Linked DNA regions of Homo sapiens: all the other regions are linked to region 1. Evidence: promoter capture Hi-C in human tissues and cell types (Jung and others, 2019). All regions are on one chromosome and are shown on one strand. Each heading gives the region's core, a stretch centred on a gene start or on the middle of the fragment in contact. The rest is flanking DNA. Distances are from core to core; before and after follow the strand shown.

Region 1 (3,964 bases), core at 627-3,126:
CCCTGGGGAACGAGGAGATACCTAGGCCCAGCTGCATTTCTCAGACCTAAACGCCTAGAACCCAAGCCACCTAGGCCTGCAGAGTCAGGTCAGAGTCCAGGTGTTATGTGCCTGCTCTGGGAATCCAAGAGCCTAAGTCAATGCCAAGTTTAACCAGAGGGTCTCTGACCCCAAGGGCAGAGCCTAGGCAGACAGAGCCCAGGGGTGTTAGCTCCGAAAATTACTGTGCCAAAACCGCAGCATTGGCCTGAAGATCCTGCCCTGTCAGGTCAGGAGACAGGAGACACTGGGTCGAGAAAGGGCAGAGGTCATTTGCAGAGCATGTTTGGGAAAGGAAGCCAGTGTTCAATTGTGTAACCACAGGATGCCCGCCCCTCGAGCTTTCCATCTGCCTTCATGCCTCAGGTCCAATGAAGTGACGTCCCCTGCCTTCTAGGACGCTGAGAACTGTCGAGGAGGCCCATCTTCTGCAAGGTGGGGCAACAACACGGACAGGTAGAGGTACCTAGGCCGGCTGGATACATTCCTCTGCTGACCTATCTCATCAGTATCTTTGGTTACTATCTGGCCAACTCACAGTTGTGGGAAACCTCAGCTTTGGGACTGGGGCCAGGTCCCTGGACAACCCCAGCCCCTGTCCCATGCTTCCTCGACCCACAAGCCCTGTCTAGCCTGGCTCTGACAGGCAGGCCGCAGCCATTACGGCAGCCTCAGCTCACACCCATGGAGCTCATCTTCCCCTTTTTTGAGAGAGATTTTAACTCCTTCCCCACCACTCCCCTGGCGCTGAAAGACTTACAATCACCCACTTCAGTGTTGACGACCCAAAGCCCTTAGAGCCACTCTCCCAAGGCCCCAGTGGGCCGTGCCCCTACACCTCATCCTCTCTTGTCGGGAGCACCTGCTCCTGCAAACTTCTGAGCCAGACGGAGTCTCCAAACTCCCGTTACCATGCGATCCTCCCTGGACCCCCGGCTAGACACTGCGGGTCGGGGAGAAGTTGGGGAGGAGTCTGGGCTTGAGCCAAGGGCCTCAGCTGACTCCTCTACCCCGGGGGATACCTCCCCTCCCCCTCAATAGGGCCGGGGCTTCCTCTTCCGGCAAGGAGGGGTTAAGCCCTCTGGGTGGGGCTGGGCTTGCCCAAACCCCCTCCTCAAGCCTCTCGGCCGCCCCGTCCCGTGACCCTCTACCCGCGGGACAGGAAGGCCCGTGCACTTTCGCCCCGTCATGCCCCCTTGCGCGGGGGCCAGAGGGGGCCCGTCTCAGCCGGCAGCGGGTCCCTCCTGCTTCGAGAGCCCCTCGGTGCCGCCTGCCCCGTGGCACCGGCCCTGTCTGTTCGTCCCCCTTCCCCTGCCCCCAGCCGTGCAGTACCGGCCCGGGTGAGAGAGCGGGTCGCGCGCCGCCCCGGTCCCCCACGGCACGGGCCGTACTAGGCCCCAAGCGCTCGGGGCCGGCTCCTCCCCCGCCCGGCGCCCGGCCGTGCCCGGCTATGCCAGGCGGCGACCCCGGCTCAGCAGGGCGCGGCGCGGGCGGGGACAGGCCCGACCCGCGGCCCGCGCCCGGGGACCCCGCGCCCGACGCCCTCGTACCGCGATCACGTTGACGAAGGTGGTCTTGCCCGAGTACTGAAGCCCGACCAGCGTGAGCTCCATCTCCTCCTTCCAGAATAGGGCCTTGAACCAGTCCAGCAGCTTGTTGAACAAAGCGATCATGGTCGCTGCCGCCGGCCCCGCCCGGTGCCAGGTCCCCGCCGCCCCTCGCTGCCCTCGCGCTGCGGCCCGGAGCGGCCCCTCCCCGGTACGGCCCGGGTCCCGCGGCTCGGTGCGGGCGGAGGCTCGAGCGCGGCTGCCGACGACTCGCTGCCCCGGAATCGGCTCGCCGATGGGTGTGGCTTCCGCGCCCTCCTCCTCCGCCGCCGCCGCCGCCCTCCCTCGCGGCCGGGCCGTGTCCTGCTCGCACCCGAGCGCGCGCTCCTCCCTCGCTGGAGCCGGGGGGCCAGGGGCCGCACCCGCAGGTGGGGTGAGCAGGGAATCCGCAGGTGGGGTGAGCAGGGAATCCGCAGGCTTCAGCGGCGGGGGTTGACCGGCAGCTGGCGTCGAGAGGCGCTTGGGAAATGGGGTCTAATTTATTTTAGACCCTGTCCCCGACTGCCGCGCCCTGACTGGCACCCCCTTTCTTAAAGGGTGGTGGGCTCGAGGTGGGTGAGGTTCCGGTTAAGCAGGAGCCTTTTCAGGTTGAAGGAGAGTGGGTCACCCACTTCCCAGGACACGGAGATGAGATCTCTACGACAGGGAGGCAGATGGAGGCTTTTTTGTCCCTGAACCCTTGCCTCTGAGCATTCCTGGGTACAGTCCCATCCTCTCAAAATGCACCCAGTGCAGAGGGACAACCGTATTCGGGTCTTTTAATACTCCATCTTGTTTTGTTCACCACAATTTACCCCGACCACTTGTTAGGAAGCCTCTGGCCCCAAGTGAAACGGACGCTTGAACTTGCTCCGGATTTTTACCAGCATCCCCAAGATACCCAAACAGATACAGTCCTGGCAGGGGGTTTTCAGTGAGGAACGTCTGTGACAAAGGAAAATGTTGCCCTGTTTTGGTGAAAAGCAGAGTATTCTTCAGGAGGAGAAGTGATAGTTCTCCTCTTGAAGTGGGTCTGGAGTGCCTGCAAAGATGCCTTACTCCTGCCCCTCTCCTTGCAAGACCCACCCATAGGACCTGCTCAGGCAGGCTGACAACCTCAGCTGGCAGTCCCGGGTAGGCTCAGGCTTCGGGCAGTCCCCAGCCTATGCTGGCTGCCCGTTGGGGTTTGGTTTTCAAATGTAGTCATATGTAGTCTATTGTTTTAGTCAAAAGTGGGTAAACTATCAATATCAACCATATCTGTCCAATCAACTGGAGTTAGATGACCCCAAATAGTCAAACAGTTACCAAAGTAGAAGAATCACAAGGTTTCGGCTAGCATAATATTGTTTTTTTTTTTTTTTTTGATGGGGTCTCACTGTGTGGCCCAGGCTGGAGTGCAGCGGTGGGATCTCGACTCACTGCAGCCTCCACCTCCTCGGGCTCAGGTGATTCTTCTACCTCAGCCTCCCGAGTAGCTGGGACTACAGGCATGCGCCACCATGCCAGCCTAATTTTTGTATATTTGGTAGAGACGGGGTTTTGCCATGTTGTCCAGGCTGGTCTCGAAGCCCTGAGCTCAAGCCATCTGCCTGCCTCAGCCTCCCAAAGTGCTGGGATTACAGGCATGAGCCTGGCCAATATTCTGGTTTATTAAGCACCATCTTTCTAACCTCTGCCCTTTATAAGTCCTCCTCTAGCTCCTAAGATAAAGGCTATGGACTGAATGTTTGTGTCCCCCCAAATTCATAGGTTGAAGTCCTAATCCCTAAAGTGATGGTATTAGGAGGTGATTAAGTCATGAGGGTAGAGCCTTATAAAGGGGGCCGGTGGGATTAGGGGGAAGAATACCAGCCCACAACCTTTTCACCATGCAAGGACAGAAAGAAGGCTCTGCCTAATAGCCAGACACTGAGTCTGCAAGGGTCTTGATCCTAGACTTCCCAGCTTCCAGAACTGTGAGCAACACATTTCTTTTTTTCTTTTTTCTTTTTTTTTTGAGATGGAGTCTTGCTCTGTCATCCAGGCTGGAGTGCAGTGGCATGATAGCTCACTGCACCCTCCACCTCCAGGGTTCAAACAATTCTTCTGCCTCAGCCTCCCGAATAGCTGACTACAGGTGTGTGCTACCACGTCCGGCTAATTTTTTGTATTTTTAGTAGAGACAGCGTTTCACTGTGTTAGCTGGATCTCCTGACCTCGTGATCCGCCTGCCTCGGCCTCCCAAAGTGCTGGGATTACAGGCATGAGCCACCACGCCAGGCCAGCAATACATTTCTGTTGTTTAGAAGCCACATGGTTTACGGTAGTGTGAATTGTTACAGCTGCCTGGGTAGGCT
Region 2 (3,964 bases), core at 1-2,500, 580 kb after region 1:
CATGCCTACCTTTTCTAACTCACTCAGAGATACAAAGATCTGACTTCCTCAAAGATGCTATTGTCAGGGACTGTGTACCACCACCCACAGGTGAAGAAGAAAAACTAGTGGGGATGGGGGTAGGGGTTGTGCTTACTAAGATGGCAAAAGCTCTCTAAAGGCAGTGGCTTTATATTAGCAGCAGGGTCTCCTTTTAAGCTTAATTTCTCAATGGAAGGTGAGGACTGGGACAGTTGGCATCCTATCTCAAAGTCGGGGGTGATGGAGGGGATTCTAAGAATTTGAATACTAACAAGGCCAAACCACGATGATTCCAAATTGTACTCTGGAGACTATTCTTCTCTATTGGCCCCAGAACCACCATCAGACGAAGAGAAACATCACAACAACTGCAGAAAACTGCAGACAACTAGAAGTCATTCTTAAAGAGATTTAATTATTTGAAGTGCATAAAAGGGGAGGGTACATTTAAACCTCTGCTATATCACAAACTGCTGTTTTTGTTGTTGTTTTATTAAAGACCCACCAGTTTTACTCATCTTCAGGTTTATGGCTATAGAATGTGGGGAAAACAAAAATTGGCAACAGAATAGGAAAAGGTAAGCAAAAGTCTGGTCACCAGAATGTCTTCTCCACTGCAGAACAGACCCCTTTAAAAAAGAAAAGCAAGGAAAATAGCTATGGGCTATCCACAGCCAGTAATGATAGCTACAGTTAGAAAGAAATGAGAAAGGAAACCAGGAGGCAGAGTCTGGGAATTCACAAGTCTCCTCTCAAGACATATACTAAACCCGGACCTCTGTGAGGATTAATTTTCCTTAGATTTCCTTCCAACGTCTTAACCCTAAACCAAGTTCCCCTGTCAATTCAAATATAATAAAGGCAGCATTCCACAAGGAAGACTGATTTGAGGATTGAAGTGATTTGCCAACATTCTGAGAAAGCTTATTTTAAAAGAGCACGGCTTTAAAGATAGGTTCTAGTCCTTGAAGACAGAGGGGTTCTTTGTTAGTGAGGGCTGTAGGCATATGGCCCACCAAACAGAGCAGGACACAAAAGAAGAATCCCCTAATGTTGTTTGCAGGCTAACATCCACTGCTACTGCAACCTGGTTGGGCAGAGGCAAAAGCAAGCAGCCCCTTCTGGCTGTGCAACAGTAGAGGGGCAGAAGAAGCTGTGCTCTAATGGCTCTAAATAATCAGCATTTAGTGTTATGTTAGGACGAAGGATTTATTCCACAATATAAACTGTAACATTTGATACAAGCTACCAAAAAATAGGGGAGAAAGGAAGGGACAGGGAGAAAGCCAAAATACAGCTGTGGCAATTACTTACAGAGAAGTCTCTTTTCTACATCACTAGTTCATCAGTGACACTAGAAACTAGACATTTGTGTTCTGTACATCAATCAATCGCTAAAGCACCAACACACTGTTTGGAAGTTTGTTTTGTTTTGTTTTAATTCCAGCCACTGAAACCAACATAGAAGTTATTGCTCAGATAAATAAACCTAGTCTACCAGGAAGAAGAAAAGTGGATAAAGGAAAAGAAGAAACAAACAAAAACTCCCAAAGTGAAAAACTTAAAAATTTCCCCAATGTGGTAACAGAGTAAACAAGGGAGAGCTTCCTCAAATGAGGATTTACTGGAATTTCTGGTGGGTGCCCTTTTGGGCACTGGAAGTGAGTTGGACTCTTAAGCTGGTAAATCCCAGAGAGAGGTAAAATTTTAATGCTGTACATGAAAAGGTGCAAGCTTCAATGCCTTCCAAATTGGTGGGAACCCCTGCAAAAAAAACAGTCAGCTTTTCAAACCTCAACAACCACAAATAGCTCTTAAGGAAAAAATACAAAAAGTGTCAAAAATTTTTTTAGTTGTTTTTTCTTTTCTTCAAAGAGTCCTGGAAAAATGATCCCATAAGGAATAGAAATAGCACCGTTTACAGGCTGGCTTGAGTACCAGTCCTGTAGCTTTGCTGAGATTTGAAGAAATCCTCTTGGTTGGAGTCCTGAATTACATTAAGTAGGGGGGTATCTGTTTTTGTGTTTTTACTTTCGGCTTGGTGCGTCCTTCACAGTACAGCGCACACAGATGTAGTCTTCTTTCTCTGCCATCTCTGGGGAGACACCAACACAGACCTGATGAAACCACTGATTGCAGCTGCCATCACACTGGACCCAGTCCACCTGGTTACAAAGAGCAGGAAGATGGGGTTTTCAGAGGAAAAAATGGATTCAAAATTGGGCAGGCCAGCCTCAAGAAATTCAGGCCGTTTGCCAATAACAGCCACTGTCCCACCACTGGGACCTCTGGCACAACAGCTAAGCCAAATGAGTGTAGCTGGCCCCCTAGCCAAAGCAACCGAGTCAAAGTCATTCTTCAAGTCGTGTCTGCTTTGGGGTTAAGACAGCGCTGCCCTGTGATAAGTAAGCCAAAGGGCATCACATCAGCATCCCTCCCACCTTCTTAGCGCCGGGAAGGTGAAAGCTGGAAGAGCAAGAAAAGGAAAAAGGGAAGAACAAGAGTTTCTTCAAGAAAAGGGAGGAGACCCAGGAACGATGGTAAGAGCACAGATATCAGTGGGGGAAGGGCTGAGCAATCCATTCAGATCAGCTCAAAGCAGATAAGCAGAGGAGAAAGACCCAGCGAGATGAGGTCTAGCTTACAGGGTTTCTGAGTTAAGGGAAAGCACGTCCTCTATGGCCCAAACCTCACTGACCTCATCTCCTTCTGGCTGCAGGCAGCTCACAGCTGGGCAGATGGCATCTTCATCCTCAGAGTCTTCCTGTTCGGAATAGGATGTGTCTGAGGGCAGGGAATGAGTTTCAGCAGAACGAACTAATTCATAGCTACGCTCTCTCTCTAACTTGAAATTGTTCATGTCCTTGGGGTGGCTCAGTTTGATTTTCTTCTTTTTGGGGGTCCGCATTTTCTTAACTCGTTCCCACCGCTCACTGGAGAGGCCCTCTCTTTCCAGGCGTCTCTTCAGTTTTCTCTCAAGACTGTTAATTCCATCTCGCTTCCCTCGGCAACAGTCATTCTGGGTGGAAGATAGGAAAGTTCAATTTTCGCCTATGGGTCACCTATTACTAAAACTAATGAAGCTAAAGAGAACATGTAAATTAGAAATCAGATGATCCCCCAATCTACACGGGAAAAAAATACTGCATCTTAACCACTCCCCTCCCAGTCTTGTATAAGACAACCAGTTTGGGTTTAACATACTTCCTTCCCCTATCACTGTTAATGCTACCAAAGGATCACTGGAAAAAGGAATGTTAAAGACGTGATTACCCTTCCAATTAACCAACCAATACCAGAAGATGGAGAGGTGCCCACTAAGAGTCTTCCTTTCACCAAATCCCTGAATGACTAACTACTATAATAGTTTCTGTCTAGGTGTTTATGTCTATCCTGTGACCTACAGGCTCCTGAGGAACCACACTAATAATCTTCCTTCTTGAAGGATGTACACCCCCACACCTTATAGGTGTAAGGCGCATTAACTGAACACATTCAATGATTGTGCCATACTACTTGGTATGGCAAATGAAATTTGCCATGAAAAATGAAATTCTAAATGCCAACATCAGCCCTCATGCTATCTTTAGTGAAGTTCTTCCCTAATTTGGCTTCAGGCTTCCTAGTAGATTTCTATCCTAACTATATTCTCAGGGGCCTTAAATGTGATGGGTCAGTTAGTTCACTAGAAGGAAGTGGCAGCAGCCGCAGTATCCTTAACTATGTTAAGAAACAGGACATTAAGGAGTATCCTTCAACTAAGTCAGCATTCAAAATGGGTCATCCTCAGTCTAATCGCCCAGTCCTCACACCAGCTGTCTGGTTATGTTTCGAGGAGTAAAATAAAGCATACCCCCACCCCAGACTGTGCCTTGCCCCAGAAGCCTCTCAGACACTCACCTTCTCACTGCTGGGTCTCACTGGTGAGCTTCGGTCAGTCTGC
Region 3 (3,964 bases), core at 948-3,447, 560 kb after region 1:
GGTGCTGATGACATCAGCATGCCATCACAGATAGGGCTGCTGAGGCTGGAGCAGCTCTGGATTCAGCGGGGTGTCCCATCATGCACTCAAGACTGCCCACCCTGGGGCCTCCCTCCTTGCTTCAGAGCAGGTGTTCCTGAAGGAGGTGCCAGAGCCCTTATGGAGAGCCCAAGGAAACCCAACATCAGGGAGGGAGAGCTGATTCAATTCCTCCAAGGAATCACTGCCTAATTTTTGTAAAGGCTGCTGCCTGATTTAAATCACCCAGCCTCCTGCTTCTACTCAACGCGTTAGTGGCCTCATCCCAAGGACCCGCACCTGTATTCTCGGGCTCCATTTGCCATAGGTAGAGCTGGTGAGAAGCGGCGAGGAGAGGAGGAAGGGTTCTGACCACTCAGCTGCTGTGGCCTGGAAGGCCCCCTGCAAAGTGCCTATGATCTGGGGATTTTGAACAACCACACAACTTCTCTGGGGATTTTGAACCACACAACTTCTCTGGGCCTTTGCCCGTTCATTGTAAAGTGGGGACAGCGATGGCGTAGCCGAGGACTGCAGTGATGAGAGCTTGACCGCCCTTGTGAGCCGCTCTATCCCCGAGCAGGGGAGCAGGAGGCGCAGGGAGGAGCCCTGAGGTTCCCTGTTGTGCGGGACCCACACTGACTTTGCCCTTTCTTATGCCTGATGCTTAGTGTTACTGACAGCAAAAGCTGAAATCCTGAGGTCCCCGGCTAAAGTGACCAAGGAAGGGCCTCTCCTGACTTTACAGCAGCAGGTAACCCCCCTTTCTTTCAGATTTGGAGGCTGCTTGGCCATTTTAATGGACCCTGCTACTCACATCCTACTTCCCTAAGTGTGAGGGGCTTTCAGAATCTAACCTCCTCCCTGGCACTCAGCCAGCAGGGACTTTATCCTCATCAGAAAATGATCCAGGGAGGAAGCTTCTACAATATCTACTGCTCATCTTGGATTTTGGGAGTCCTTTTTTTTTTTTTGAGACCGGATCTCACTGTTTTCCAGGCTGAAGTGAAGTGGCATGACCATAGCTCACTGCAGTCTCGACCTCCTGGGCTCAGGCGATCCTCCTGCTTAACCTGGTGTGCCACCATGCCCAGCTAATTTTTAAATTTTTTGTAGAGACAGGGTCTCCATATGTTGCCCAGCCTGCTCTGGAATTCCTGGGCTCAAGCGATCCTTCTACCTCAGCCTCCCAAAGCGCTGGGATTACAGGTGTGAGCCACTGCACCTGGCCTGGGGAGTCCTTCTGGATGTTTAATTTTAGACCCAGCCTCTCTAGGGGAGGGGGCTGGCAGCTAGGTGTTCCCCTGCCCTCCAGGCTCACAGTGACTCTCAGGTCCCTCTGGGCCTGGATCCAAATTTACCCATCACTCTGGCTACTTCCTTGAACTGTCAGTTCCAGAGATGAAAATGAAGGATTGCTGGGACAAATCCTTCCCAGAAATCAAGCTTTGGCAAGAAAAGACTCATTAGGCATAAAAACCGTCTTCGAGTGAGGGGGATGAAATGCAGGACTGACCACCAAGACGGTGAGGGCAACTCCTTCCCTTGAGTTTTAAGAATATCAAAGGTGGACAGTGCTCCCTGCAGCTGGAGAACCCAAGACAGTGTTGTGTGTGTGGGCAGGAAAAGGAGCACGCAGGCCACCCAAGGATGAAAAGCACTTACTCCTCCCGCGCCAGGCACTGTTCTACACGCTTTACAGGAATTAACCCATTTCATCCTCACCAAGAACAATCTACGTCATAGTTACAAATTTTAGCTCCATTCTACAGATGGCAAGACTAAAAAACAGAGTGTGATTGACTCGCCCAAAATCACAGCAAGTGGCAGAACCAGGATGAACCCTGGCAATCTGGCTGTAGTCACTATACTGCCACTTAGAAAAAAATCTCTGACTTGATGTTTCTCCAATGAAACTATATTATTTATCACAGGCTTCTGGAGTCCAGGAGAAGCCATAACTGAATCCCAGCTTCTCTGGCCTGGCTTCTCTGACTGAGTGGAAGATGAAGAATCAACTTGTTGCCTATGGATGGATTATTCACGTAGGGAATTTAGAACTGCATCTGTCTGGTGGTCCAGGGGCTACTTCTAAAATAACACGAATAGTTATCAGTTCTACAATACTACCCTGAGAGTTAAGCATTATTACCTCTGTTCTTTAGAGAAAACTGTGCAGACATTGTCAGATCATCCTGTTACATGCTCTCGAAGCTTCCTACATACCTTCATAACTCTTGGCACAGTCATGATGAATTCTTTATGTAATTATCTAATTGTGTGGTATTCACTAGATTGTAAATGCCACGAGGGCAGGAAACAGGTCTGTTTTGTTCCCACCTGAATCTCCATTGCCTAGCACAGATTCTCAAAATGCAATAGTGGAACGAATGCAGAAGGGATGCTGAGTGGCTCAGTAACATGTGTAGGGCCTGCGGCTGTGCTCACCTCCCCACCCAGAGAGACTACAATAGTGGCACATGGTAGGTACTCACTAATAAAATACTTGTTGCAAATGTCAGACTTTGTACTTAGCAGCCCTGGGATTTGAACCCAGGCCTGTCTATCTCCTAGCCTCCATTCTTTGGTGCTTCATATTTAACCACTGCACTGAGTGACCCTGCCCCCCCATTACTCCCTCTGACTTGCTGTTCCAGTTCTTAAAGAGTATCCCCACCACCCTGGACCTTCAGTGGTGGGGATACTCTGGCTTCAGCTAGGACCTGCCTAGACTGGGGAAGTCCACAGAGCAAATCCCAAAGCCAAGTGAAGTAGTGTTTCTACTCATCTGCAGCCTTAAGTCCTCCACGAGGATGCTTCTGTCCAGGGAAGGGAATGATGGTCATTCTTCCAGGCAAATGAAGCCCAACCTCCTCCCACTCTGTCCTCACTGCCTTCTGTCCCCCTGCTTCCAGTGCACTCACTGCCCCTCTATCTACTCTCCCCTGAGAGGGCGGCACAGGCCTGGCGGGGAAGAAAAAGGAGACCCCATTGAGATATGATAATGTTCAGATGGAGGCAGAAAGAATGACTAGAGGTCAGGCTTGCCTAGGGGCTGGGGAACACTGGGGTAGCCTGGTCCCCAGGGCTTGAGAAGGGCAAGGAAGAGGCTTCTCCAGCCACCTCCAAAGCCCACCCCCAGGTCTCTGCAGTATCATAGACAGCCCTGTCACACCTGCCTGGAAGCTGCCTAAGGGTAGAAGGAATAAAACGAGCTCCAGCTGCAATGTGAGGGCAGGTGAGCCCAGACCCAGCTCCAGAAAGGGTCTCCTCGGCCCTGCGAGGTCTTCAGCAAGGTACATGCTTTGCCCAGGTGAAACCAGCTTCAGTCCTAAATTGAAGCCAGTTGCAAGCTTCTCTAGGTGAAAAGTCAATGTTTACGAACACCAACACTTTTTGCTTCCCCTGGTCCTGTTCTGCGGATGTCAGACCCCAAAGCTGAAAAAGAAATGTTCCTGCATAATCACCCCCTTCCCCCAAAAGAAAACCCAAGTTCCCTGGACCAAGCTCCTGGACTGCAGAACAAAGCAGACTCCCAGCAGAGTGGTCTGGTCTCTCTTCCTCCAGGGAATGGTGGGCCAGGTCTATGTGAGGCTATAACCTAGAAACTTTCCTCTGCCTCCCTCTCCTCCTCCTTTGGCAAGACAAGGAGGGGAGAAGGTAAGGATTAAGCCCAAAAGATCTCCAGAAAAAGCCAAGCCTCTGGGGGGAGTCCTAGAGGGTGAAGCCAGGGATCTGCCTGGCAGCCAAGCAGAGCAGAGGCAGCCACCCTGAGGGAAAGGTGGTTCAGTCGGGGTTCAGTGGGCACTGGCCATTTTCCAGGGGCATGGGAGGAGATGGGTTGGAGTTGGACTCCCTAGGCTGCAGTGTGCCTGGCGTGGACCCCTGACGCTGACTCACCCCCAGGGCCCTGACACACGCTGCAGCTTGCAGTGCCTGCCAGACC

What was found. The method cuts DNA at HindIII sites, captures the fragments that hold promoters and counts their contacts. A contact is called where the count stands out against the background at its distance.
Region 2: a contact is called between a fragment that was not itself captured here and the fragment with the promoter of ARL8A in region 1, in 1 of the 25 tissues and cell types used here (spleen).
Region 3: a fragment that was not itself captured here is called in contact with the fragment with the promoter of ARL8A in region 1 in 1 of the 25 tissues and cell types used here (lymphoblastoid cells).

The regions. Positions count from the first base shown.
Region 1 is chr1:202,142,861-202,146,824 of GRCh38, forward strand. It overlaps ARL8A (ARF like GTPase 8A), which reads right to left and starts at 1,877. Exons shown (of 7, transcript NM_138795.4): 1 at 1,590-1,877. The coding sequence starts at 1,712. RefSeq lists silencers at 818-867, 1,368-2,077. The HindIII fragment of the contact is 36,256 bases long and covers 1-3,964 here.
Region 2 is chr1:202,726,988-202,730,951 of GRCh38, forward strand. KDM5B (lysine demethylase 5B) reads right to left here. Exons shown (of 27, transcript NM_006618.5): 25 at 3,922-3,964; 26 at 2,720-3,040; 27 at 1-2,186. The coding sequence ends at 2,049. Among named protein-coding and RNA genes, the nearest start is that of SYT2, 19 kb to the left of the region's middle. The HindIII fragment of the contact is 3,837 bases long and covers 1-3,169 here.
Region 3 is chr1:202,704,744-202,708,707 of GRCh38, forward strand. All of the region lies in intron 1 of SYT2 (synaptotagmin 2), which reads right to left. Among named protein-coding and RNA genes, the nearest start is that of SYT2, 3.7 kb to the right of the region's middle. The HindIII fragment of the contact is 4,055 bases long and covers 171-3,964 here.